3 separate regions of the Homo sapiens genome follow, and all the other regions are linked to region 1. The links are contacts of gene promoters, found by promoter capture Hi-C in human tissues and cell types (Jung and others, 2019). All regions are on one chromosome and are shown on one strand. The core of a region is centred on a gene start or on the middle of the fragment in contact, and the rest is flanking DNA. Distances in the headings are between cores, read along the strand shown. Region 1 holds the start of RNF130 (ring finger protein 130). Region 2 overlaps COL23A1 (collagen type XXIII alpha 1 chain). Region 3 holds the start of TRIM52 (tripartite motif containing 52).

Region 1 (3,360 bases), core at 486-2,985:
GATTTCACAACACTGCAGAGGACCAGCTCTTGCTCCACAACAGCTTGCCTCCCCTTCCTCTTTCTACCCTTCCACGTGACCCTCACGGTTCTCTCCACCAGAAAAGAGGCTACCATTGTTAGTTGCCAGTCTGGCAACACTGTGCATCTCAACCACAGTGACTGGCACAGAGCAGGAACGCAAATATTTACTGAATGAACCCAAGACAAAAGTTGTTTCTACGGCCAAGCTGGGACCCTAACTGCCATTTTTAACACAGTAGAGATGAGATATGCACCTTAAGCACCTGATTACTGGTGTAAAACGGACTTTTCAAAGCCTAGTCTGAGTTGCGGACAGGCTACAGTAAAAGCCTTATGTGATTATTTTTCCCCAGCCAGACTGTCTCAAAGAAGAAAACAGCTTAGCACTTTGGCATACAAATACAGACCTCAGAGGGGCATAATATGTTAGTATCTTAAGAGTGTACAAGCAAATCATGACTTTATTTAGGTTGCCTACTTTAGGTCATCCTAACATGAACAGCAGTTTAGAAAAGAAAAATCCCCTCTCAGCATTCTCAGGGTGACAATGAGGGTGGGGATAATGGCAGATATCTCCCAAAAGTTCAGCGTGGGCCAAAACCCAAAAAATCATATTCCACGATGTGCAAAAGGTTTCTTTCAAACCATGACTAATAATTTAAACAAATACATGTTTACACCAAATAATCAACTAAACAAAGTCCTTGTTCATAGGAAAACATGACATTAAGCCGAATGGTTTCAAAGACAATTCTTGAAAATTTTACCTATTTCCCTTTTGGTCGGCACCCGTGACCTGAAAAGCCTTGGCTAGTAGTTCCGATTAGTGTCAGATCCTCATAATGTGACATTTTCAGGCGTCAAATTACAGTAAAACTACTAGGGCAAGAACAAGAGCCAAAAGCAACAGGGAAGATGTCCATTTTCCATTTACACCCCCCCCCCAATTTACCACTTAAGAAAAACGGCACGTTTTTATATTAGAAAAGGGCCGCATCCTTCCAGATCTAGCGCAGCCTTAAGTCCGTGATTTGAGGAACCTGCCGCTTCCAAAATACAGGCTGAGACGTCCTCCCCATGAAGTAGTTTTGCGCTCTTGCACCACCTCCTTTGTCTACGCTGTCCCTGCAAACTCCTAGCTCAATGCCCTCCAGCAAACGAGCTGCCTGAACGCAAAGATGACCGTTCCAAGTCTTTTTTAAAAGAAGGGAAAAACCCAGTCACGCTCCTGGAGCCTGGTTCCCACGGGAGCAGGCCGGGCTGTCCACGACGGAAGCCTCGACCCTGGCTGGGGCTGTCGGCCGGGCAGCGCGGGAGAGCCAGGGCCAGAGCCGGGGCCGGGAACCCTAGTCCCGCCGCCTACGCGGGATGCAGCGACCACCGCCCGCCGCCCCCGGGCCGGCACTCACCTCCGTGGAGGGGCAGCGGCGCCAGCACCTGGCCGCGGACCTCGGCCTTGGGGGAGTCAAGCCCGTAGCGCCCGCGGTCGATGCGAAACGTGAGCGGGGCGCCGCGGCCGGGCTCCTGCACCGTCACGTTGATGAGCGCCGTGTAGTACTCCTGGCTCGCGTTGTCTGCCCGTGCCGGCCACAGGCTGCAGGTCAGCAGGGCGAGCGCGGCGAGCCGGGCAGGGCCCGCCCGCCCCGCGCAGCTCATCGTCCCTCCGGCAGCCGCCGCTGCTCGCGGACCGGGCTCCGGGGCCGGCGCCTAGAGGCGGGGCGGGCGCGGCCCGGGCGGCGGCGGGAGCGCGCGCGCGCGGCCTGCGCGGGGCCGAGCCCGAGCGCGGCCCTCCTGGACGCCGCGGCCCCGCCGCTCGCCGCCCTCACGTCCACTGCCCGCCTGTGGGGACGCGCCCATGGGCCCTCGGCGAGGGCGGCGTCTCAGGTCGCACGCGGGCGTCTCTTCGGGGTCCCAGGAGGGTTGTAGAAGCGTGCCCCCTCCATCCCCCCGGGTCGGTCCCACCGAATGGGAGGCGCCTCGCAAGGACGCGGCGGGGGAGGGGAAGGGCGGCACGGGAGGAAGCGCCCCGAGGAGGGTCAGCGGAACACAAAGTCCCTCTCGCGCGGCTGCCGCCTGAGGCGCGTGTCCGCCGCCGCCCCGCCCCCCCGCTGGTCTAGCGGCAACGCGCAGGCCTAAGGCGCAGTCCCGCCCCGAGCGCATGCGTGCCAGGGCCTGTCCGCTCCCGCCCGCCTGCACGAGGGCCCGGGCAGCCGGGTCAGCCGCTGGTGCTGGTTGTTTCTCTGTCAGGCGTGATAGCCGCAGGGCGTGGAGCCCGGGAGATTTGCGAGGACGTATGGAAATGTGTGAGAACAGACTACAAAGGAAAAAAAGCCATAACTTTAAAAGAAATGTTTAAAATTAAATGTCATGAGATTTAACATTCACGTCATGCGGTTGACATCATGGATGGGGGATGTCTCTGGCCCGGACCTGCAGGGACACGAGTGGTTGGGAAAGACCTCTAGGGTAGCCGTCCCTAACCATTTTGGCACTGGGGGACGGGTTTCCAGGAAGAGAGTTTTTCCAGGGACTGAGGGAGTTGAAGTGGTTTCCGGATGAGGCTGCTCCACCTCAGATCATCAGGCGTTAGATTCTCGTAAGAAGTGGGCAACCTAGGTCCCAAGCATGCGCAGTTCACAGCCGGGTTCACGTTGCTATGAGAGTCTAATGCCGCCCTGATCTGACAGGAGGCGGAGCTCAGGCGGTGATGCTCACTCACCTCCTGCTCGCTTACTGGTTCCTCGAAGGCCCTGGGCCGGTACAGGTCCGCGGCCGGGCGGTTGGGGAGCCCCTGCTCTAGTGACTAGGTGAACTACTCCAGGGGCCCCCGGACCAGAGGGTTGCAGTGGGAACCCCCCCTCCACCTTCCGAAACGCGCGCGCGCGCACACACACACGACTCTCATTTTCTCTCTCCATGGCGTTTAAAAGATACACATCGCTATAAAGTATCAGCTAAAAGGAAGAATGGGGCAGTGCAGCCGAATTCAGGAACTTACAGGATCTTTGTGGGGAGGCGGAGGGGGAAAGTTTGGCGTCTTCTGACCAGCCAGGGTTGAGTCTCCTGTCTCCTACTGCGGGAAGTGGGTGGAGTCAGCTTTGCACAACCAAATGTTCTGAAAATCCGGAAAAGAGGTGGCTCCCCAAAAAGAAATTTGAGGCACTGTTTCCAGGAAAGGGTACGGATGCAGTGCAGGCTAAAACTTAAGATGCCCACCACTGGCCAGGCGCGGTGGCTCACGCCCGTAATCGCAGCACTTTGGGAGGCCTAGGTGGGCGGATCACGAGGTCAGGAGTTCGAGACCAGCTTGGCCAACATGGTGAAACCCCGTCTCTAC
Region 2 (3,360 bases), core at 357-2,856, 1.8 Mb before region 1:
CCTGACCGGTGGCCTTCACGCAGCCTTCGCTCAGGCTGTCCCTGCCTCTCTGGGCTTCCGCTGGCTGAGGACGGACTCCCAGGCCCAGCATCAGGGTCCTCTGTGGTTAGGGCCAGCTTCAGCCATTTGGTCACTCTGCACCCCTGTCCGTCCCGAGCTCTCTGGCTTCCTTTCCATCCTCATCCCTCGGCTCTCTGTTCCCTCTGCCTGGAGTGCCTTCCCTGCGTTTCCAGCTGGTAAGAGGCAGCTCGTCCCCCGGGACAGCCTCCTGCTCTGGGAAGACTTTCCTGGCCTCTGGTTCTGGACACAGCTGGGAGCTGGCCTCGTGCCTGCCAGGTAGGAGGTAAGCTGCTGGCTTCCCTGGCTCAACCTCCAGACTGCCTCGTATGGAGATGGCCCATCTGCCCATTCCCAGACGGTGTGAGAGTGGCCACTCCACGTGGGGCTCGCGGCCAGGGCCTTGCTGGCAGCAGGAAACCAGGCAGTTCTAAAAATTGGTGTCAAAGGGCTTCTGGCCACCAGTCTCATGGTCGCTGAGGGTTTGGCCATCAGAGTGATGGCCTGGTGACAGCTGGGGTCCCAGGAGAGTGGGAGTGGGGGCATTCCAAAGTCTTGGGGATTCAGGCCCTGGGGGCCCCGGGTCAGGGCCTCAGCCTCCATCACAGGCATAGTTCTAGTCCTTGCCATGAGCCTCCCAGGAGCTGCCCTAGCTGGACAGTGTCCTCTTGCCAGTTCCCGGCTGTCCTGATCCTGGGGTCCACACCCCCAGGCCTTCTGCCCTCGGTAGTACACTAAATTTGGCCCTGCCCCTTGTCCCCCTACCCCCCGACCCAAGCCCTGCTGGGTGTCCTCAAGGTCGCGTCCCACTAGGCATCCCCACCTTGGACCCTTCCCCCAGGCCTGACCCCACACACATGGCCGCCAGTCCTTCCTGGGTCTCTTCAAGGAGCTCTTCGTGGCCCCCACTCAGTCTCAGTCACACAGCAACCCTGTAAGGTACGTGTCATCATCCCCATCTTACGGAGAAGGAAACTGAGGCCCAGTGAGGGGAAGACCTTGCCTAGGGCCATGCAGCTGGAGAGGTCTGGGCCCTGGGTCTCCATCCTGTCTGCACTGCAGGCCCGTGCCGCGGTGCTGTCTGGCCTCCCGGCCGCTCTCTCCTGCTCTAGGCCTCGGAAACCTCTGTTAAATCCTCCCTGCAACCAAGGCCCCCTGGATGTGAAGCACGCAGAGCCACAGGGCTCTGCCTTTCTAGAAGTGCCCGTGGAAGGGAGCCCAGGCTGTCCCCTTGGCCTCAACCCCAGAGGGAGCATCTCAGTGCTGCCGGCTGTTTCTGGAAGTGTCCACCGACTGGACCTTATTATGGCTGCAGGCCTCCTGCCTCCTGAGCTGGACGCTGCCCTCTGTCAAGCTAGGACTGTTCCTGGGGGGTCACTGATGGCGCAGCCTTTGGTCCCCGAGGCTTCTTTCTGATGTGTGAGAAGCCCCGTCCGTGACAGAAAACCAATTTTTACACCAAACGCCCTGCCTGTATTTGTGATCAGAGAGCTCTGGGAGTTTTTACAAGTGAATTCAGTGTGTAGCTTCCCAATAGAGGCAGAGGGTGCAGTGTGCGCAGTGCTCCCGGGAGCCCCCACCAAGGGCTGAAGGGAAGTCAAGTCCAATTCTCGGAAGCCGAGCCTGTGCCTGCACCGGCACTGAAGCTCCCTGTGTGAAAACTGACACAGCAGACGGGGCTGGGCCAGCCCCTGGGACAGAGCCGACCCACAGCCAGGATGACACCTGGGCAAGAAAGCTGTCCCCAGGCCCCCGAGCTTTCTGTGTGGGGCAGTGGCTGACCTTGGAGAAGCTGCTGGGTGGGTATGGTCACTGAGGAGGGGACTCCGAGGTGGGCCGGGAAGGAACAGCCTGGCTTTGGAGTCAGATGCACCTACCTGGCTTGGGGATGTGATTCTGACCTCCCCTCCTGTCCTGGGGAAGTTGGGCCAGCCCTCTGGGCCGGAGGACCCTGGGCTGTGAACCTCCAGGGGATGGACCCTGCCCACAGTTACCCTACAGAATGCCTTTCCCAAACTGGTGTCCCACAGCACACTGCCCTGCAGGGTGCCAACAGGCTTGCCTGGAGACAGGGATTCCACGGTTGAGTAAGTCTGAGAAACACTGGGTTACACTCTGCGGAACAGGTTTCTTTCCTGCAGGGCTGTCTGAGCCGTCATTTTAGTTTGTGGGTCTTTGAAAGGACAGTGCTCCTTCCACCCCTGCAATGGGCTCAGTGGACTCAGCCTCAATGCACTCAGTGCCTGGCTGAGTCACGCAAAGCAACTGAGGCGTGAGGCTGTGCAGACCATCTACAAACCAGGTGTTTCTACTGGTGGAGTGGGGGCTGAGCCTGGCTCTGGGTGCTCTTGAGAGGAGGACAAGCGCCTCAGGGAAGGGCCTGGGGCTGGTCTGAATGGAGCCAAGGAATGCATGGGGTGGGGGGCGTGGTCAGGCTGGACAGAGGCATGGCAGGGCAAGTGTCCAAGTGTCTAAGCCCGAGGGAAGTCCTTCTGAGGAGAATGAGGGCTGTTCTGAGCAGCTGGGCGGTCTGGAAGGGCAGAGCCCCAGACTGGGCGGGGGCATGCCTTGGGTGGTGGTTGGCTGGGTGTGGGGGGGGTCTCCCCTATCTAGGCAGCCCTCCCCTGCCCCAGACAATAGGGCACCGGCCATCAGCTGCCCCGTTCCTCTCCCAGCATCTCCCACAGAAGGAGTGGGAAGGAAAGTAGCTCGGGGAGGTTTACCACCAGCTCACAGAGCGAAGGCCAGGGCTCAGCCTTGCAGGGCCCAGGTTCAAATCCCTCCTCTGAGCCTCAGCTTCCTCATCTATGGATGCCACAGCACTGTGCCTGGAGATGCTCATGACTGTCCAGCTCGCTCCCCTGCCTGATCAAAGCCCTTGAATCCACCAGAGGTTTTCAACGCCTTCTGCCCTCTGAGAAACCCCACAGCTGTTTACAAGCCTTGGTTCTGCTTTAAATCACTCTTTCCCCATGGAGATCAGCCGGGCTCCGGGATGTTTCCGGATGTGTGAGAAACAAACAAAGCTCTGGGCTGCACATGAGCAGCAGGCCAGGCGGCCACCTGTCCTGGGACCCCGGATGGGCAGCCCTCCCCCAGCCCTGGTGCTGCCTCAGTCCCTTGCTTTGCTCAGGGACTGGGGTGTCCCCGAGCCTCAGTTTCCTCATTTGTGAAATGCAGGTCATGCCATTCTCCTCTCAAACAACAAGTTCAAATTGGGTCCCAGGTCAGTGGCCTTTGTTTCCCAGACCAATGCAAGATGCGAAGCCCCACGGGCAAGCAGACACTGGATTAGGGTTTGCC
Region 3 (3,360 bases), core at 565-3,064, 1.2 Mb after region 1:
GATCCTAAATCCCGCACTCCTTCCACTATGATAAAATACCAGGAAAGAAAAGTGATCAGGATATGAGGCACATTCTGATCCATCAAAGATGCTTATATGCTTTGCCTTTCTCTAGAAGGAAAACGGACCCCACTGAAGGTAGAGATGCAATCCCAGACTTTCAGAGGGGGGGTGTGGCCAATTGCTATCAGTAGTTTAGGACTCACATCTGGCATTTCTGTCTACCAATACATCTATTTTGACACTGCTTGTGCTGAGGTCCCAAATGTCTATTATCTCCAAGTACTGTGGCTTTCTATTCCTATCTGTACCTGTCCCAGGGAATTGGTCAAGGACTCACATTAGGGAGAAATGAAGTACTGGGTATCTGTTACTCACGTCCCTTACACTTAGGTAGACTGCCAGTATTAGCAGTAGTGGTCCGCTTCCAGTGACCGTCATATTATCTGTTCAGCTTCCTCTGGGGAAGCCAATCTGCCCCAATCTTCATGGTTTTGTGTCTCCTTTTTTACCCATATGACCATCTCTCTCCACCGTGTCTCCCTCATCAAATAAAGAGAAGTTTAGCAACTAAGTACCTGAGGAGGTGGGAAAGGAATGCTACTCATTCCTCAGCTCTCCTAGTTACCTTTCCACTCCCTTCATCCCCCCACATTCCCTCATTTCTCTCACCTGGTACTCCTGCACCACCTCCTCCAAAGGCAGCACGCTGTGCTGTTTGTGGCTCCTGGATTCTCGGCACACCACACAGATGGCCTCTTTGTCCACCTCACAGAAGAGTTTCAGGGCTTCCTGGTGTTTAAAGCACATGCCCTGATCATTACTCCGGTTTCCCCGATAAGGAGTGGGGCACATCTGGCGAATTATCTGGACCATGTTGGCCAGCTGCAAGTTGGGACGAAAGCTGCGACGTGTAAAGCTCTTTCGGCACTGGGGGCAGGTGAACTGCCCTGGAAGGGGCAAGGAAGGAGGCGGGTGGATGTCAGGATACAGCTCTTCATCTTCGTCCTCATCGTATGCTTCCAGTATTTCTTCTTCTCGGTAGACATCAATTCTCAGGTCAGGTCTCAAGCCTCCTAGGTAATAGTCCTGATCTTCCTCTTCTTCTTCTTCCTCCTCGTCCCACATATAGTCTACGTTGTCCCAATTAGTTATACCACTGTCACCGAGCCAGAGTTCATCGTCATCTTGGTCTTGGAACAACTCTTCGTCAGCATTCCCCCGATACAACACCTCTCGAATGGAGCCGTCCCATCCATCCATGGCCCCCACCGCTTCCTCGTCCTCCTCCTCCTCCCATTCATCTTCCTCCTCGTTCTGGTCCTCCTCGTCCTCCTTACTCCACAGCTGGGTCACACACCCTCGGCAGAAGTTGTGCCCACAGCTGATGGACACGGGGTCCTTGAAGTAATCCAAGCAGATGGCACACACCGCTTCCTCCTGAAGGGTCTGCATGGGGCTGGGAGTAGTGGCATAACCAGCCATCTTAATGCCCGCCGGCAGGTGTAGATACGTCAGCTTGGAGCTGAGGAGCGGGGACGCGCCTGCAGGCCTGCCTCCAAACTACTCTGGTGACCCGAGGCTGTCCTCAACCTTGCTCTTCTTCCTCGGGGCCGCAGGGGAGCTTTGACCCCCTCTCTCAGGGTGCGAACGCCCAGATCCAGACTCACAGCCTCTCTCTGGGATCGGTGGGGACAGAGCAGGCTGCAGCCCCCAGCTGCTCGGTCCTGTCACGTCTCTCGCTACCCTCAGGGTGTGCCCTACACTGCGGCGTCCGCCTCAGATGCAGCCGCTGGCTACCCTGCCCGAGGCGACGCAAAATGACGTCTCGCTCCTGCACACGCTCTGGAGAGACGCTCTAGGCCGGCGGAGGACCACGTCTCTATGGTGTGCCGGGGGCCGCGCGGGCCGGGAGTTGGGTGGGCTGGGGGACAGGCGCGCCCGCGCCGCCCGCTCCAGCTGGGCTAGTGCTGCACATTCCGGCCAGCCCCTCCTCAAGACCCCATTCCCAAGCCCCTTCTCAGCTCCCTCGGGCCGGCAGAGCGGCTCTGATCAGGTCAGCGGCGGACGCCGGGAAGAGGCCCGGCTTGGGAGAGGTGGTTTGGTGGGTTGGCTGGTTCTAGATGGTGGGGGGGTCAACACTTGAGGGGGACTGGGTCTCCGAGCCGTTGTCCAGCCTGAGCCGGAGCCCCAGGAAGGTTAGAGGGAAGGGGGATAAATCTCTCCGGAAGCCCCGCCCGGGCCGGGGCCGAGTTGGTCCGCGGCGGTGGGGAAGCCTGGGACACCACCCTGGTGCTGTCGCCCGTCCCGCCGTCCGCGCTTGGGGTGCCTTTGTGGGGATCCGGGCGCCGCACAGCTGGGAGGGCCTGCCGCCCGGGAGGCTCGGATCCGGGGCGCCCAGTGCCCCCCGCTGCCTTCCGTGAGCCGTCGGGCCCCAGCTCCACGTAGGCCTCAGACCCAGCCCTGTTTCTGCTTGCGGGGCCGCGGCTGCGCAGTATTGCGGCGTCTGCCAGCAAAGCTGCGCCCCGGTCGTGGGTCCCCTGAGGGGGCCGGGGCTCAAGTTCCCTTCGGTGCTGCCGCCTGCGTCGGGCCAGGGTTCCGAGTTCCAGCCCTGAGCTCTGTGAGCTCGGCCGGGAGGGGGCTGGATTTGGGACCACACTTCCTCACCGCCGTGGTTTAGACTTAGTTTGAGAGCGGCTGGCCCCTCCTTCCTGTCCCGGTGTCCTCCGCTGTCTGTTATGCCCTTCACTCCTCCCTGGGGAGGGAGGGCTGGGGGCGCTGTCTGGGTCTGTTTTCCACCCCAGCGGGGCCCTAGGGCAGTGTCATTTAGACTCCACTCTGTCACCTTTCCTGGAGAGGGGACCTGATCCAGGGCTGAGAGGTTTTTTTTTTTTTTTTTTTTTTTGAGATGGAGTCTGGCTGTTGCCCAGGATGCAGTGCAGTGGCGCGATCTCGGCTCACTGCAAGCTCCGCCTCCCAGGTTCACGCCACTCTCCTGCCTCAGCCTCCCGAGTAGCTGGGACTACAGGCGCCCGCCACCACGCCCGGCTAATTTTTTTTTTTTTGTATTTTTAGTAGAAACGGGGTTTCACCCTGTTAGCCAGGATGGTCTCGATTTCCTGACCTCGTGATCCGCCCACCTCGGCCTCCCAAAGTGCGGGCTGAGAGATCTTACAGTGGGAGGGGGAATCAGGCCCTGGGGAAAGGCTTCTCAGGGGTTGTCTCCTTCTGTCTTCTGTCTCTGCAGGTAGGGATAGAACCAGGTCAGGCCTGGATTTGTAGTCCCAGAGAACAGAGGATGGAGATGGGGGCTGGACGCAGCTCAGAGGGGCTGGTGCTCATGGGCTCTGTGTATGCCTT

Evidence for each region. The method cuts DNA at HindIII sites, captures the fragments that hold promoters and counts their contacts. A contact is called where the count stands out against the background at its distance.
Region 2: a fragment that was not itself captured here is called in contact with the fragment with the promoter of RNF130 in region 1 in 1 of the 25 tissues and cell types used here (lymphoblastoid cells).
Region 3: the fragment with the promoter of TRIM52 here is called in contact with the fragment with the promoter of RNF130 in region 1 in 1 of the 25 tissues and cell types used here (heart left ventricle).

What each region holds. Positions count from the first base shown.
Region 1 is chr5:180,070,024-180,073,383 of GRCh38, forward strand. RNF130 (ring finger protein 130) reads right to left here and starts at 1,736. Exons shown (of 9, transcript NM_018434.6): 1 at 1,433-1,736. The coding sequence starts at 1,679. RefSeq lists an enhancer at 1,410-2,117 and a silencer at 2,007-2,086. The HindIII fragment of the contact is 8,378 bases long and covers 1-3,360 here.
Region 2 is chr5:178,271,930-178,275,289 of GRCh38, forward strand. All of the region lies in intron 5 of COL23A1 (collagen type XXIII alpha 1 chain), which reads right to left. Among named protein-coding and RNA genes, the nearest start is that of PHYKPL, 41 kb to the left of the region's middle. The HindIII fragment of the contact is 7,558 bases long and covers 1-3,360 here.
Region 3 is chr5:181,259,329-181,262,688 of GRCh38, forward strand. TRIM52 (tripartite motif containing 52) reads right to left here and starts at 1,815. Exons shown (of 2, transcript NM_001346048.2): 1 at 673-1,815. The coding sequence starts at 1,485. It overlaps TRIM52-AS1 (TRIM52 antisense RNA 1), which reads left to right and starts at 1,884. Exons shown (of 3, transcript NR_102762.1): 1 at 1,884-2,056. RefSeq lists enhancers at 1,516-1,565, 1,746-1,795 and silencers at 1,936-2,085, 2,196-2,445. The HindIII fragment of the contact is 18,434 bases long and covers 1-3,360 here.